Regions from separate parts of the Homo sapiens genome. Here region 2 is linked to region 1. Evidence: promoter capture Hi-C in human tissues and cell types (Jung and others, 2019). All regions are on one chromosome and are shown on one strand. Each heading gives the region's core, a stretch centred on a gene start or on the middle of the fragment in contact. The rest is flanking DNA. Distances are from core to core; before and after follow the strand shown. Region 1 holds the start of SKA3 (spindle and kinetochore associated complex subunit 3). Region 2 overlaps XPO4 (exportin 4).

Region 1 (2,700 bases), core at 97-2,596:
TCTGAGGTTCAGGCGATCCTCCCACCTCAGCGTCCCAAGTAGCTGGGATTGCAAGCCTGCACCAACATACCCAGCTAATTTTTTTTGTATTAGTAGAGACGGGTTTTATCACCTTGGCCAAGCTGGTCTTGAACTCCTGACCTCAAGTGATCCGCCCGCCTTGGACTCCTAAAGTGTTGGGATTACAGGCGTGAGCCACCGCACCCGGCCTCTTTTACTTCGCTTAAATGTCCAATTTTAGTAGTAAAATCCCGGAAAATGTTTTTAGGAGTATGTTTAACTGAAAAGCTCATATTTTCTTTCATTTTTGGGCAATTCTTAAGGTAAGCAAACTAATGTTGCATGATAAAGCCCCCATCAAGTATCTCATACTTAAGCAAAGACCTCAAATCATTGTGGCTTTATTGCAGCTTTCCTTCAAAATATCATCTGTGACTGAGGAAATCCCTATCTTCCTATCAGACTAATGAAACCACAGGACAGCAATTAGACTTTTAAGTATTGGGGGTTTAGAGCTCTAGATATTCGATATGCAGACTACTCATGTTTGTTTGTTTTAATAAAGACTGGTCCAAAGGCTCATTTTCACACAAGCTACAGTTTTTCAGTTCCAGGACCAGGTAAAGATGGTCAGCTCCGTGATCCATAAAATCCAAGGGTGACGACTCAGGATTAGGACCATTTCTTGGTGACATTGAGATGGTCGAGCTGGTCCGCAATGAATCTATGCGGGGGGAACTTGGAAGTGGCGGCCGCCTTTATGGCCTCGAAGGCCTCCCTCCTGCGCACCGCGGCGTGGCCGCGCTCCTGCTCCCGGGTCATGTAGGGCATGCTCAGCCAGTAATGGTTCTCCGCCTCGATCTCCAGGCGGCGGATCATGTTCTGCTTGGCGCGCAACGACACGAACCGCGGCCGCCGGTGCTTCCCGATCCACTGACGGCCGGGAATGCGGCCGCGCCAGAGGAGCGCAGTCAGGAACATGGTGCCTGCGGAAGAGAGGGACGGGCTTTGCGGAGGCGAACTGGCGCGGCCGGACCTGGAGAGAGCAGCGGGCGCGCGCTCCAGCTCACGCCTACGGGAGTTCCCGCACCGCCTCCCCTCCAGAGAAGCGGGGAGCCCAGGTAAGGCCAGCAGGCGAAGAAGGAGCTCCCTAGAGAACCGAATTCGCACAGCTACTCACCTGCCGCGCTGCTCAAGACTCTGCGTCTCCGCGGCCGCCAGCAGACGCCGTGGCGTAAGCGCACCCGTCTCGCGGGGTCTCCTGGGGCCTCGGCGAGAGACTTCGGCTCTCGCGAGAGAGGACTGCGCCTGCGCAGAGCCGAGGACGCGTCCGGCGCCGAGATTCAAACTAGTGGCGGGAGGCTGTGAGCTGAGCGGTGGGGTCTGCGTACGCCTGGAGTCCTTCCCCGCTGTGCTCAGCATGGACCCTATCCGGAGCTTCTGCGGGAAGCTGCGGTCTCTGGCCAGCACGCTGGACTGCGAGACGGCCCGGCTGCAGCGAGCGCTGGACGGAGAGGAAAGCGGTGCGTGAGGCGGGCGGCCAGGGCACGGTGCGTGGGGTGCGCCGCGGGCGGAGGGGCGTGGCGAGTGGACGGTATGTCCCACGGGAACCGCCAGGCACTGACGGCGTGGACGGCTGCCACCGAGGCGCAGGGCGGGTGCTGCGCGTCTCACTGCTCGGCGTTTGGCGTTAGCGTAGCTCCCGGGCCTGTTTATGGTTTATTCCTAGGAACCCTTGTCGCGTGTCCGTTTTAGACCCATGTACAACCCCACGGCTCTCTTGAGATAATGAAAGTAGCACTATTACGTTATAAACAGAGACAGCAGCACTTAAGAATAAGAACCTAAATTAACAGATTGAGCTCATAATACATATACTAATTTATACGTGATATGCTTTCGTCACATACAATATGTGTGCTTGTCAGTAAAATACCATGTAAACCTAAACAGTTTCTCTTAGAATCAAGCTATTTAACGTTCTTTACACAATACTTTACACATATAGTGACTTTTTTCTCACTCACGTGGTCCACAGTTGCAGTAAACCTCTGTGTTTTTCCCGCTAAACCATGTTGCCAACACAAACACTAGTACTCAACAGTGCTGGGGTTTAAAAAAATATGTGTATATAAATAAAGCAAAATTCACCATTCCCCTTTTTATTAGAGATTTTTTAAATTGTTGAAAAAGTAGTTCAGATTTTGGAATTATTTCATAAATGTCATAATTGTAATGTGCTTTAAAATATTACACCCTGCAGACTACTTTTACTTTAATTATATAATGAATGATCTCCAGTCACTTGAAAATGTCTATTTCTGCCCGGCGCGGTGGCTCACGCCTGTAATCCTAGCACTTTGGGAGGCTGAGGCGGGCGGATCACAAGGTCAGGAGATCGAGACCATTCTGGCTAACACGGTGAAACCCCGTCTCTACTAAAAATACAAAAAATTAGCCGGGCGTGGTGGCGGGCGCCGGTAGTCCCAGCTACTCGGGAGGCTGAGGTAGGAGAATGGCGTGAACCCGGGAGGCGGAACTTGCAGTGAGCCGAGATCCGCCACTGCACTCCAGCCTCGGCGACAGAGCAAGAGTCCGTCTCAAAAAGAAAAAAAGATTTGGCCGTGCACGGTGGCACACGCCTGTAATCCCAGCATTTTGGGAGGCCGAGGTGGGTGGATCGCCCGAGGTCAGGAGTTC
Region 2 (2,700 bases), core at 7-2,506, 390 kb after region 1:
AACAGTGTGCAAAAGCACAAGAAACAGACTCACCACTTTTTCTAGCAACACGGCACTTTCTTAAGGTAAGATGTCTGTGCGGTAGGTCAGAAAATCAGCTACTTTCAAAAGTGTGGTCGGTGCACATAATTCTGCATTCAAATGAGGAAATGCTTCCATTCTTTCGGGGGCAAGGAAACCATGACTTCCTGTTCACTGTTTTTTTCTGGAGATCAGCTCTTCATGGACACATTCTCATCCTCTATTTTTTGTGTTCTTGGAAATTGATGTGGTACACATTGAGGGAATTTGATATTGTTGATTATTCAGATACCACAGCAAGTAGCAATATCTGTAAGGTATTTTTTTTAAAACATTAAGGAAAATTTCAGATTGATTTAATAAATAGAATAACAACCAACCCTCTCTTCTTCTTTTTTGGACTGGGGAGGGACTGGAGGATATATGATCATCCTATGTTTTTATTTAGAAGTCTTATGTAATTTCAGCTGGTTTTTGATATGCTGGTTTTGCAAAAGCACAACACAGAGATGACCACTGCGGCTGGCGAAGCTTTCTACACGTTGGTGTGTTTGCACCAGGTACTGGACATGCCTCTTTTCAGGGGACTCTTCTCATTCTATTTTGCAAAGAGATTGTTGAGATAGATGGTGGGTCATTAATCCCCCCTTATAGGATCTGTGACTCAGTGCTTCAGTTCTGTTTCAGTGAGGAAGTATTTCTTAGCTTCTTTATTAGCTTTCACATGTCAGTTTGTGTTTATCTGACAGCTGTTTGTCAGTTCAAAGCATTTATTTTTTGTCCTCCACCATTATGAACCATCCTTTGCAATGGTCACTGCCCCAAAGCCTGTCCTTAAACAACTGTGCTAGGAATGAGGAATACATAATGGGTGTGTGAAGAACTCATGGTTTTTTGTAAGGGAGACAGGATGGCAGACAAGGAAGAGTCTGCCTTCAGACAGTATGGAAGACAGTATTTTATTGCATATTATAGAAAACAGTATATTATTTCATTTTGTTGATCTTTTAAAGATTCTGAAGCATCACTGATAATGGGGTTAATAGAAGAGTTAGGCTAGCTTACCTGTCTCCCCACTTCTGATCGAATAGGTGCCTGTGAAATTTATGAAAAGGACCGTATTGAACAGTTTGCTGCCTCTGTTTCCCCTTTTCCTCTCCCATGCATATATATACACACATATATATGTAAGGTACATATATATATATATATATATACACACACACGTATATATATATATACCTCCCAGCATGGCCAAGAAGCTTTGGCGTTTTATTTCCATCTTTAAAAAAGGGTTTAGAGGAGGTCTTCCATACTATTTAAAGACCTCCTTTCTCTAGACTTCCCGTAACATCTGTGCCCTAAGCTGAAGGTGCCCTGGGGCTTCATTTCTTGCTCTCTGCCCTAGGCTGCCACTTCCTGCAGGTGGTACCTGCTCTCAAATCTGTGCCCTTTCTCTGTCATTTGTCTTACTTGTTGCTTACTAGCAAGGTAGTCGTCTTGTCTGATCCTTCCTTCCTTCCTTCCTTCCTTCCTTCCTTCCTTCCTCTCTTTTTCTTTTCTTTTTTCTATCTTTTTCTTTCATTTTTCTTTTCTTTCCTTTCTTCCTTCCTTCCTCCCTCCTCTTTCTTTCTTTCTCCCTCCCTCCCTCCCTCCTTTCCTCCCCCGTTCCCTTCCACCCTCTTGTCTCTTCCTCCCTTCCTTTCTTCCTTCCTTCCTTCTCTTCCTTTATTTCTCTCTCTCCCTCTCTTTTAACATATTTACACACTGCAGGAAAGAGCAGGTTTCAGGAATGGCCAGTATGATACTTGCTGCCTGGCCCCAGAGGCTCTACTATCTCGCTTTTTTTTTTTTTCTGAGACAGGGTCTCACTTTATTATTACCCAGGCTGGAGTGCAGTGGTGCAATTACTGCTAACTCCTGCCTCGGCCTCCTGGCCTCAAGCAATCCTCCCGCCTCAGCTCCCCAAGTAGCTGGGACTACAGGTGTGCACCACCACACCTGGCTTATTTTTTGTAGAGACGGAGTTTCACCATGTTGCCCAGGCTTGTATCGAACTCCTGAACTTAAGCAATCCACTCGCCTCGGCCTCCCAAAGTGCCTAGGATTACAGGTGTGAGCCACCATGCCTTGCCACCTCTACCATTTCTCATGAGTAGGGAAATGATAGGAGATTATACTTGGTCCCCTGTGAACAGGACTGTCCCTTTGATAAGGCAATTAGGGGAGCCACTCTGGCTCCATGGTTGGGGATTGGGATGCTGCACCTTATCCTTCTTTTCCAAATGTAATTAACATTTGGTTTCACCATTTTGGTCTATCATGATATCCCAAGAAGCCAATGAAAAATTACAGCATGCCAGGTGCAGTGGCTCATGCTTGTAATTTTTGCACTTTGGGAGACCAAGGTGGGTGGATTGATTGAGGCTGGGAGCTTGAGACCAGCCTGCTCAACATTGCAGAACCCTGTCCCTACTAAAAATTCAAAAATTAGCCAGGGATGGTGGTGCATGCCTGTAGTCCCAGGCTCTTAGGAGGCTGAGGTAGGAGGATCACTTGAACCCAGGAAACAGAGGTTGCAGTGAGACAGGATCTCACTCTGTTGCCCAGGCTGGAGTGCAGTGGAGCAACCATGGCTCACTGCAGCCTCAACCTCTTGGGCTCAAGCGATCTCCCATC

The links. The method cuts DNA at HindIII sites, captures the fragments that hold promoters and counts their contacts. A contact is called where the count stands out against the background at its distance.
Region 2: a fragment that was not itself captured here is called in contact with the fragment with the promoter of SKA3 in region 1 in 1 of the 25 tissues and cell types used here (spleen).

What each region holds. Positions count from the first base shown.
Region 1 is chr13:21,175,198-21,177,897 of GRCh38, reverse strand. It overlaps SKA3 (spindle and kinetochore associated complex subunit 3), which reads left to right and starts at 1,346. Exons shown (of 9, transcript NM_145061.6): 1 at 1,346-1,523. The coding sequence starts at 1,421. MRPL57 (mitochondrial ribosomal protein L57) reads right to left here and starts at 1,240. Exons shown (of 2, transcript NM_024026.5): 1 at 1,181-1,240; 2 at 1-986. The coding sequence starts at 981. The coding sequence ends at 673. RefSeq lists enhancers at 771-1,090, 1,106-1,828, 2,551-2,700. The HindIII fragment of the contact is 23,400 bases long and covers 1-2,700 here.
Region 2 is chr13:20,784,846-20,787,545 of GRCh38, reverse strand. XPO4 (exportin 4) reads left to right here. Exons shown (of 23, transcript NM_022459.5): 21 at 1-65; 22 at 489-581. Among named protein-coding and RNA genes, the nearest start is that of EEF1AKMT1, 12 kb to the right of the region's middle. The HindIII fragment of the contact is 3,118 bases long and covers 1-2,700 here.